2 separate regions of the Homo sapiens genome follow, and region 1 is linked to region 2. Evidence: promoter capture Hi-C in 16 types of primary human blood cells and fetal thymus (Javierre and others, 2016). All regions are on one chromosome and are shown on one strand. Each heading gives the region's core, a stretch centred on a gene start or on the middle of the fragment in contact. The rest is flanking DNA. Distances are from core to core; before and after follow the strand shown. Region 1 overlaps MGA (MAX dimerization protein MGA). Region 2 holds the start of TYRO3 (TYRO3 protein tyrosine kinase).

Region 1 (5,040 bases), core at 770-3,269, 180 kb after region 2:
ATAATGAGGACTATTGTAGTCTTATTCTCTGGAACTTTTTCTTCCTGGAAAACTCCCAAATTGTGAAAGTTGATACATTTTAAGTTACTACTGTGAAAGAACGTGAGAATGTGACAGTTTTTTTTCAGAGTTTCATACAAAATGCTGTGATGCAGAAATAATCTTTCAACTTTTTCTTTTTTATTATTATTTTACATCAGAAAAGAGCTGGAAGTCTTCCTGCAATGAAGGAGAATCCTCTTCTACTTCTTATATGCATCAGAGGTCACCTGGTGGTCCCACCAAACTGATTGAGATCATCTCAGACTGCAACTGGGAGGAAGATCGGAACAAGATTTTGAGCATCTTATCCCAGCACATCAATAGCAACATGCCACAATCACTTAAGGTGGGCAGCTTCATCATTGAGTTGGCTTCTCAGCGAAAGAGCCGGGGTGAGAAGAACCCTCCTGTTTATTCTTCTCGTGTGAAAATCTCTATGCCATCATGTCAAGACCAAGATGATATGGCTGAGAAATCTGGATCAGAGACTCCTGATGGTCCATTGTCCCCTGGGAAAATGGAGGATATCTCTCCTGTGCAGACAGATGCCCTGGATTCAGTGAGGGAGAGATTACATGGAGGCAAAGGTCTGCCTTTTTATGCAGGGCTTTCTCCTGCAGGGAAGCTTGTGGCCTATAAACGTAAACCCAGTTCAAGTACATCTGGGCTTATCCAGGTGAGAATTATCTTTAATCTGGGTATAGCACCTTTGTATACACCTAGGTAGTATCATGATTTTTCAGAGCCCTTTATGGTCCTGATATCCTTTATCTTGACATTTCCTGGGAACTGGGTGACAAAATTATTATCTCTTTTTGTAATAGGCCTAGTTTAGATGCATACCTAGAGTGAATTTTTGTCACATTTATGAACAGAAACGTAGAGCCTTGTATTAGTTTTAATTTTCTTTCTAATCTTCCCAGAAAGTTGCTCTTCATAAACTTTATTGCCTGCAGGCTCTAGTGATACTTTGACAATAAAGCAAGGGTAATCAGGGATTCAGTCTAGCTCTTGGAATTTATTATTAGCAGATAGGTTTCAAAACAAAACCATGGTTAGAACGGTAGGTGTAAGGGGAAGATGAAATTGACTTAAAGATAGGCAATATATGTTTAGAAACTTGGGGAAAATTTTAAAAATTTTTATTTATTATTTATTTATTGCAATCTTGGCTCACAGCAACCTCTGCCTCCTGGGTTCAAGCAATTCTTTGTGCCTCAGCCTCCCAAGTAGCTGGGATTACAGGCATGTGACACCACACCTGGCTAATTTTGTGTTTGTGTGTGTTTTTTTTTGTTTTTGTTTTTTTTTTAGTAGAGACGGGGTTTCGCCATGTTGTCCAGGCTGGTCTCGAACTTCTGAGCTCAGGTGATCCACCCACCTTGGCCTCCCAAAGTGCTAGGATTACAGGGGTGAGCCACCATGCATGGCTGAAAATTTTAATTTAGTAAGGTGTTATTTAAATACAAGAGTAAAAATTCAGCCATATTTACTTAATTATATTTTTTCTTTATTTGATTCGTAGGGGTTTTGTTAGTGTAACTGTTGTAGGACAAATACCTTTATCCTTGATACTTAGTAATTCACGCAGGTTGTATTAGTAAAATTATACTGGCATATAGAAAATTTGAAAAGAGACGTTCTGAATTAATGTCATAGTCAGAAAAGGTTTTTCTAGCTGAGCGCAGTGGCTTACGCCTGTAATCCCAGCACTTTGGGAGGCCGAGGTGGTGGATCACCTAAGGCAAGGAGTTTGAGACTAGCCTGGCCGACATGGCAAAACCCCATTTCTACTAAAAATAAAAAAGTTAGCCCGGCGTGGTGGCGCGCGCCTGTAATCCCAGCTTCTTGAGAGGCTGAGGCAGGAGAATCATTTGAACCTGGGAGGTGGAGGTTGCAGTGAGCTGAGATTGTGCCACTGTATTCCAGCTTGGGCAACAGAGGGAGATTGTCTCAAAAAAAAAAAAGTGCACTTTTATATTAGAGTAGCAAATGTGTGGAAGTGTCTGATATTATTGCAAAGTTAGCTTGACTTTCATTAGATTGGCTGCTTCTAAGTCACTAAGGACTTCTCCATTAATAATATGATTGATATAGGCTGGGCATGGTGGCTCACACCTGTAATACCAGCACTTTGGGAGGTGAAGGCGGGTAGATCATGAGGTCAGGAGTTCAAGACCAGCCTGACCAACATGGTGAAACCCCATCTCTACTAAAAATACAAAAATTAGCCGGGCATGGTGGCGTGTGCCTGTAATCCCAGCTAGGAGGCTGAGGCAGGAGAATCGCCTGAACCTGGGAGGCAGAGGTTGCAGTGAGCCGAGATCACGCCACTGCATTCCAGCCTGGGCGACAGAGTGAGACTCCATCTCAAAAGAGAAAATAATATTAATATGATTGATCTACTTAATTAAAAAACTTATTATTGCAGTTTACTGTTGTGCATGCTATGTAAATGCTTCTGTTGATATTTCTTATACTCTTGATGAGGAGAACAGTATTTTCTCTACCTTATATATTGATTGACACTTTGAAAACAGAGGTTTGCCTGATACAATTTCTAGTGAGACTAGACTCCCTAAAATACAAGCATGGAAATTTTTTGTTGTCTTCTGCCCAGGACTCACAAAGCCACCATAGAATGTGTCTGCATAAGCAGTCAGGCAACTGTAAACTTTGTAAACTTTGGGGAAGCTGCAGAGTAGGCTTCAGCGCAGTCCCAAGGGATCCGGGAGGGGGTATCTGACCTATTTCTGTATAGCCTGAAAAGTTACAGTAAAGTCTACTTTCAGGGGGAATGATCACATTCTTTGTACCAAACTCAAGGCAGAGATATTCTTGATCTCTGTGGGAATAATCACAATTTAACCAAAGTAGCAAAGAGTAATTTTGTTTTGTGTCTCTGAAGATGGAGTTGCTTGCTGTAGCTGGTCTCCTCACCAGTTCCCTGTTAGAGAGTAGATTCTACCTCACTCCATCTCCCCCAACCCCCGATTTTGAAATGGTGAAAAGGAAATATAGAAAAGGTTATCTTCTCTAGAGTTGCCTGGCAATATGACCTAGAGAACATGGGTAGAGACTTGGGAAGTTTTTGTTTTCTTTCTTTAAAAAAAAAAGAAAAGAAATCAACCCCCACAAAAAACAACTGTGCTGGTACCCATGATGGGCAGTCTGATAAACTCAGGCAGCAGAGGGGATCTTTACTTCATTTGTTGGTTCACTTTCTTCTGACTATTTAGTTAATTATGTCTAGAATAAGAATGAGTTCGTACCAACATTCAGTTTGAACCCATGTTTTATCCAAGAGATGAAAATAGTATTTTCAAAGCTAAGCTTTTTGAAAATGAAAAACTGTGAGGTAATTGTGGCTTAGGTTATTGCAACAATGATTGTCTTATAACTTAAAGTAGATTTCACTTATATTTTTCAAATATGAAGGATGCTTGAAAGGACCCTTGTGTGAGAGCTTCATTATGTCTCTCTGGTCTTATCAGAGAGATTCTGTGGGACACTCATTTTTGCTGATGAGGTTAATAGCTTAACCAGAATGCCTTATTTACAAGGAAAACAATTGGATAATTCTAGTTGTTTAGATTTGATGATAACTTTCACATAACTAGGATGCAGAAATGATGAGTTTCCGATTCTCTATTTTCAAACTACAATATGAAGGAGATGAGATTAGTTCAGAATATCAGTTGACAGCATTTTTCTACCTTCTGATTACTCAGATTATTCTAAATGGAAAAAGTCTACTTCTTTTTCCCTTTTAAATCTGAAAAATAGACTTATGAAAACTTGTAAAAATGAAGCCCCTGTCAAGGGAGAGGAGTTAGCAAGAGAATTTTATCTTTACAGAATTTCTCTTTGCCACTTGTTTCAGGTTAATGGTAAGAGTTACCCGCAGGCTAAGTTGCTATTGGGACAGATGGGGGCATTGCATCCAGCCAATAGGCTAGCTGCTTATATCACAGGCAGGTTGCGACCCTCAGTCCTGGACCTCTCAACCCTCAGTACTGTCATCTCCAAGGTAGCATCCAATGCCAAGGTGGCTGCATCCAGGAAACCACGTACCCTGTTGCCTTCAACATCCAATTCCAAAATGGCATCCTCCTCTGGCACTGCAACAAATCGCCCTGGGAAGAATCTGAAGGCGTTTGTCCCAGCAAAACGGCCAATTGGTAAGTTGGGGTGTATGTATGGTTTGGAAAGGCCTATGACTTGGTGGTGGGACAGTGGGTACAGGTATGGAGGTTGTAAAAATTAGAGAAATATGTACTTTGGCATTATTCTTATTCTTGTTGTCTGTCTTGCCTGGACTTTTTTGATTGTTTGGGGTTAACGTCTGATAACCTGCAATATTAGATGAATTGAGTTGTTTTATAGTTAATTTCTTGGTTTTATATATATTTTTTATTTTTTAATAACACTGACTTGAAGGCAAGTTTTATAGTTATTTTTAAGGTTTTCAGACTGGTTGTTATTAATGTAGAAAAGACTTAAGGATTTTAATTTTGTTTCTAAAAAGGGAAGACATTTAAAAATAGTTTACTATTATACTAAATTATTTACTAAAATATTTTACTAAATTAAAAATAGTTTACTATTTTCCTGTGAGGACTGGTGTTTCTGGCCTCTTGTTGAACTCTTGCTGGTGCTATGTAAATGCTTCTGTTGATACTTCTTAAACTTATGAAACCAAGGAGCTAGCAAAAGCTAGTGGTGTAAGTAGTATAGGCTTAAAGTGGAAAGCTCCTATAAATACAATTTTGAAAGTGTTGATTTATTCCATTCATCTCTGTTCTATGAATGAAAATCTCTCTTTTCCTTAACATTTAAATGCTGAAGTCTGTAATAAATTACCTTCTTGAAACATTTGTGTTTTAGCATTGAGAGTATCTATAGTTGGTTTATTGAATTCCTCTTTTTGTTGTTTCAAATCTGTTAGGAATGTTAGGTAAGAGTGTCAGTTGAAATCTCTGGCTGAATGGTTAGAGT
Region 2 (5,473 bases), core at 66-2,565:
TCCAGTGAGCCTGCGGCAACCGGAGCTGAGTGGCTGGTCCCTCCTCTCTACCCAGGACCTCTGGAAGGGGTGTGGGGTGGGCTTCCCCCTGGAGGGAAGGGCAAGGGGAGGAGCACACTTGGTAGGCTTGGTTTGGAACCAGCTCTGCATGTGCCTAACAGGATGTCTGTGGGCAAGGCCACCCTCGTGATTACTGGTTGTGGGGCAGGCTCTGAAGCAATTATTCATTCATTTAACAGGCATCTGCCTATTTATTTATGGAAAGCCTACTGTGTGCAAGGTGGTCTACTAATAATAGCTAATGTTTGACTGGACAGTGTGACGACACAGCCAACTTTCACACCAGGTCCTGGGAAAAGGGGTAGAAGCAGGGGAAGCAACCAGGAAAAATGACAGCCCAAAAAGATACGGGCAATTAGGCTTTGGCCTGTGTAGTGTAGTGGTGGGGATATATATTAGGTAAAACCTGGGGATTACCAAGATCTTGGGAAACTCAGGACCCAAGTTGGAAAACATACGGCAATTGGGGCTGGAGAAAATGGGCATTTTTCAGGTGGGAGGGACTTGGAGATAAAGGCATGGCAATAGGACATGAATATGGGGATTTTGGGTGAATGGCTCAATGAAAGGGAGGCACGAAGGGATGCTAGCCGATCCTGTTGGGGGAGCCCCGGGTCACGGCAGTTTCGGGGAGCCAGATGGATGGGAGTGTCTAGGGGTTGAGGTGCTCTAAGTCCTGAGAGGGGGATGCTGGATTCTGGGATCAGAGTCCGAACAAGAGTTGGGGTGTGGTGGGGGCTGACAGCGGGGTTTTGAGGGAAGGCTCTGGAGGGCTGGGTTAGAAAAGATGCCGGAGCGGGTTTAGGGAAAGGAGGGGCGTGGCCGGGGAGCCCATCCTGGAGGCCAAGCCGGATCCTCAGGTTTGGCCAGGGGGCGGCTGGGGCCGGCGTGCCGGCGGGGCGCCGGCGGGGCCGCGGGGGTTTGCGGCGCTGGCTGGGATTCGCGCTCCGAGCCAGTCGCCGGGGCTCCGCGGGGGGGCGGTGCGAGCTCGGGCTGCGGGCGGGCCGGGAGGAGGCGGCGGCTCCGAGAAGAACATGAATCAGCGGCGGCGACGGCGGCGACGGCAGTGGAAGGAGCGCGGTGGCGCGGGAGCGGCCCCGGGGACCCCGCGCTGCTGACGGCGGCGACCGCGGCCGGAGGCGGGCGCGGGTCTCGGAGGCGGTCGCCTCAGCACCGCCCCACGGGCGGCCCCAGCCCCTCCCGCAGCCCTCCTCCCTCCCGCTCCCTTCCCGCCGCCTCCTCCCCGCCCTCCTCCCTCCTCGCTCGCGGGCCGGGCCCGGCATGGTGCGGCGTCGCCGCCGATGGCGCTGAGGCGGAGCATGGGGCGGCCGGGGCTCCCGCCGCTGCCGCTGCCGCCGCCACCGCGGCTCGGGCTGCTGCTGGCGGCTCTGGCTTCTCTGCTGCTCCCGGAGTCCGCCGCCGCAGGTAGGGGCTGGCACGGGAGGCGGCGGGAAGCGGGGGGCTGCGGAGGGGCGCGGCCGGGGGTCGGAGCCCGGGGCGGGCCTGGCGGGCTGGAGTCGGGGTGGGGGTCCGGAGCCGAAGGCCGAGGCTCGGAGCCGGGACAGGGCACGCTGCGGAGTGCTCGCCGCCAGATCTCCGGCCGGGCCCCCACCCCCAACTTTCTGGCGCTCGGGGCTCTTCTGGCGGGGTGGAAGAGAAGGGAGCGGGGTGTGGGCTGTGTGGTCAGCGGGGAGTGTTTGGGACTGCATTTTCCCGCCTCGATGTTCCCAGCTGTTAGCTCCCTCCTTCCCAGTACTGGGGACCCCATTCTGCCTGCCCCGCACGCGAAGGTCCGCCTCGGAAACCACACGGGCCGGGGCTGGGCACCCAAAGGCCACCCTGATACCATTTAGGTACACAGGGGCTGTGAGGGTGCCCAGTCACAAAAAACAAATGGGCACACTCGAGTTCCTGTGCCCTCAGAGCTTCCTGAAAGCAGAACCTTGGAGAGGATGGGCTGGTGCCAGGTTGCTGGTCTTTGGGAGGGGTTAGTCTTGTGTTCCCACATAGCCACTGAGGCATTTGCTGGTGACAAGAGCGTTCCATGCAGCACGGTGCTCTCCAAGTTCCCACCCCGCACCTCGGGGACTGATGGGCATATAGGGAGCGGGAGGCTGGCCCCCATCCTGTGACTGGTCCTGAGAGGGTGAAGGGAGCAGGGAAGAGCCACAGGCCAGGACAGCGGCCACCCGCTGGCATCTTCTCTTGAGACAGCATTCCTTGCCATATCAGCCTCTCAGGGAAGGGAAGGGAAACGGGGTGACGAGTATTTACAAGCCGAAAGGTGCGGACCTGATGCTCAGGGAGCCCACGACTTTGCCTAGAGTCACACAGCAAAGGGTGAGAAGAAGCAGGGCTGGATTTCAGTTATGTGGATACTTGACCTGCCCCTCTCTCTGCTTAAAAACATGCCAGGAGGCCAGGAGAGGTGCGTGTATGTGTGTGTGTGTGTGTGTGTGTGTGTGTGTGTGTGCGCGCGCGCGCGCGCGCTCGCACGCAAGTTCCAAAGAGTGGCCCCTGTTAATGTGGCAGTGGCTCAGGGGTCTTAGGCTCCCTGCTCAGGGCCCCAGCCCTCCCTTCTGCCTCCCACCTTCCTAGCACTCGCCCCTGCCCACATTCAGGTATTAATAGAGTGGATGGCTGCCAGGAAGGCTGCCATGTGTTTGATCTGACGTGGTTTTGCAGCCATATGTTCTCCACTTCAGGGGAGCACCCCCTCCTTTCCTTCTTCAGCCCTGCTCCATTTGGTAAGGTTGGGTGCAGAGGGTGCTGGCAGCAATTCAGGGTCTGGGCTGACACCTTGGGTGGAGAGCTGGCAGCCTGTTGCACTAGTTGGGTGCAGCAGTCATTCCTAGAGCAGTGCCTGCCCCAGTAGGGTAACTCCCATCGTTTCAGCCCAGCCTGCCTTCCTTTTGCTGTCTGGGCTCAGAAGGAGGACATGGGGAAGAGGTCCTTAGAGCCGGAGGGAACTTGGAGAGCTTGCCATGCCCCTTCCCTTCGCCCAGGTCCAGCGACCTTCCCTTCCACACTGTCCTACCTCTGCTTCCTTGACTTTGGCTGAGAAAGAGCCCTCTGTCTGACACAGAAGCTACCTTCTAGAAGAGAATGGGAACTGTTTACAGAGACAGAGTCCCTCTCAAGGCTGACACATGTTCCTTCCCACCCCTCAGGTCTGAAGCTCATGGGAGCCCCGGTGAAGCTGACAGTGTCTCAGGGGCAGCCGGTGAAGCTCAACTGCAGTGTGGAGGGGATGGAGGAGCCTGACATCCAGTGGGTGAAGGATGGGGCTGTGGTCCAGAACTTGGACCAGTTGTACATCCCAGTCAGCGAGCAGCACTGGATCGGCTTCCTCAGGTGCAGGCCTGTGGGGGAAGGTGTGGGCTGCCAGCCAGGGGGCAGGCTATGCTCTTTCCTTGGGGATTGGGAGCTGGGGCCCTCTCCTGATGCCCAGAGGTCTGTGGTTTTTTTATTTGGCTACCTGTGGGACCTTCCAGAAGTGGGGGCAGGCTGAACTCATCAAGTTTGCCCAGCAGAGCTGCCGCCCTTGCCCTCGGAAGCAAGCCTCGTATCCTGTTTCCACAGCCTGAAGTCAGTGGAGCGCTCTGACGCCGGCCGGTACTGGTGCCAGGTGGAGGATGGGGGTGAAACCGAGATCTCCCAGCCAGTGTGGCTCACGGTAGAAGGTGAGGAGGCAGAGCCATATGGGCGTGTTGGCCTGGAGCACGTGCTGTCTGCTGGTGACTATACCTCTGCAGCGGAGAACTCAGTAGAAGCTGGGCTGCCCCACTGCTCTGTGGGGCCTGGTTGTCCAGGCTGTAGGCCCACTCCAGATGTCGGAAGACCCTACCAGTTGGAGTTGGGTATCTGAGAACCAAGGGACCAACTGGGATCCACAACCTGTGGGGTGCAGTCTGTTTCCGTTGCTTGAGCAACAAGCTTCAAGCATCCATCTGGGACTGGACCCTGTTCTGCCAAGTGGCCTGGCCAGCAGGGGGAGGGGAGGAAGGCTCTGCAGCTGCGGGAGCTCAGAGCTGTTCAGCCCAGGAAAACAAAGTGACTAAGAAAGTAACAAAGGGCCCTGAATGGGAGCTGGGGCCTGGCAGCAGAACTCTGCTAAAGCTCTCACCCACTCCCCTGAGTTTTATGCCCCTCTCCCAGCTCTCCACCCCCAGTCTCCTCTCTTACTGCAAGAAGAGCTGTCCAAATCTGCCATGCCTAAGGGGGCAGCATGGAAGATGTGTCTAAGGTGCCAGGCATGGTGGCGTGTGCCTGTAGTCCCAGCTACTCCGGAGGCTAAGGCCAGAGGATCACTTGAGCCCCCAGGAGTTCCAGGCCAGCCTGGGCAACATAGAGAGACCTCCCCGCGACCAATCTCAAAAAAAAAAAAAAAAAAAAAAAATTCCTAAGGAGCCTGAAAAAGAGAAGCACCGCCTACCTCTCAAGCTAGATGCCTGTTCTGCTGTTGACCTAATCATAAGGGGCCTGTGGGAACCTTCTGCGTGGAGGACTTCAGATGTAAACAGACTTGTGATTTGTACAGTAGGAAGCCAAGAGGTGGCAGGGCTCACTCCTCACTCCCCTTCTCTCCTAGGTGTGCCATTTTTCACAGTGGAGCCAAAAGATCTGGCAGTGCCACCCAATGCCCCTTTCCAACTGTCTTGTGAGGCTGTGGGTCCCCCTGAACCTGTTACCATTGTCTGGTGGAGAGGAACTACGAAGATCGGGGGACCCGCTCCCTCTCCATCTGTTTTAAATGTAACAGGTGAGCAGCCTCAGAAGGGGGCTGGGAGTGGAGAAGGAGCTGGGTCCTGGAGGGCACTGAAGCTGGCAGTTTCAGCCACTGAGCTTGCGGTTGTGAGCGTCCAGAGCAAGCCCCAGTGTCTGGGGACGTGAGCTGCACCATTACTAAGCTCATTAGTCAGGTGTGCTAGGCTGGCTGGGTGGGCTGATTAGTGGTGATCCTGCTGTGTGTGCTTAAGGAGGGTGTGGGGCCACCTTTGGTTCACAGCAGTCCAGGCCATGCACAGCTGGCCCTCAGAGATGAATTGTATGAGACCAGGGGCACCCATCCCCCACCCCTCCCAAGGAAAGGAGCCAGAAACCAGCCCACGCAGAACTAGGGAGGAGTATCTGGCAGACACTGAGAAGACAAGACTCTCAGGCTGCAGAGAGGGGAGAGGAGGGAGAGAGAAGGGGTAGGGGGAGGTTAGCACAAAGATACAGGGCCTCCTCCCCTAATGGCGCTTTCCGGGAAACCTCCACACGTTTTCTCAAACAACTGTGTCTGTCCATACCTCTGCACAGTCACACCTGCACACCCACCTGGGCCCCAAGTTTCTTGGGCACATACCCTCACATGCTTGTAAGGCTTGCTTATTTGTGAAACAAAGGCTTGCTTATTTGTTTCTGGTTG

Evidence for each region. Contacts are between HindIII fragments. The CHiCAGO score rates a contact against its expected background, and 5 or more counts as called.
Region 1: a fragment that was not itself captured here is called in contact with the fragment with the promoter of TYRO3 in region 2 in 1 of 17 cell types (M1 macrophages); the score reaches 5.5 in M1 macrophages.

Annotation. Positions count from the first base shown.
Region 1 is chr15:41,735,981-41,741,020 of GRCh38, forward strand. It overlaps MGA (MAX dimerization protein MGA), which reads left to right. Exons shown (of 24, transcript NM_001400225.1): 13 at 201-718; 14 at 3,926-4,223. Among named protein-coding and RNA genes, the nearest start is that of MAPKBP1, 36 kb to the right of the region's middle. The HindIII fragment of the contact is 2,708 bases long and covers 666-3,373 here.
Region 2 is chr15:41,557,897-41,563,369 of GRCh38, forward strand. It overlaps TYRO3 (TYRO3 protein tyrosine kinase), which reads left to right and starts at 1,316. Exons shown (of 19, transcript NM_006293.4): 1 at 1,316-1,485; 2 at 3,231-3,414; 3 at 3,643-3,743; 4 at 4,652-4,822. The coding sequence starts at 1,362. RefSeq lists enhancers at 735-1,236, 1,803-2,444, 4,477-5,164 and silencers at 965-1,054, 1,000-1,166, 1,105-1,244, 1,255-1,424, 1,731-1,931. The HindIII fragment of the contact is 16,850 bases long and covers 1-3,994 here.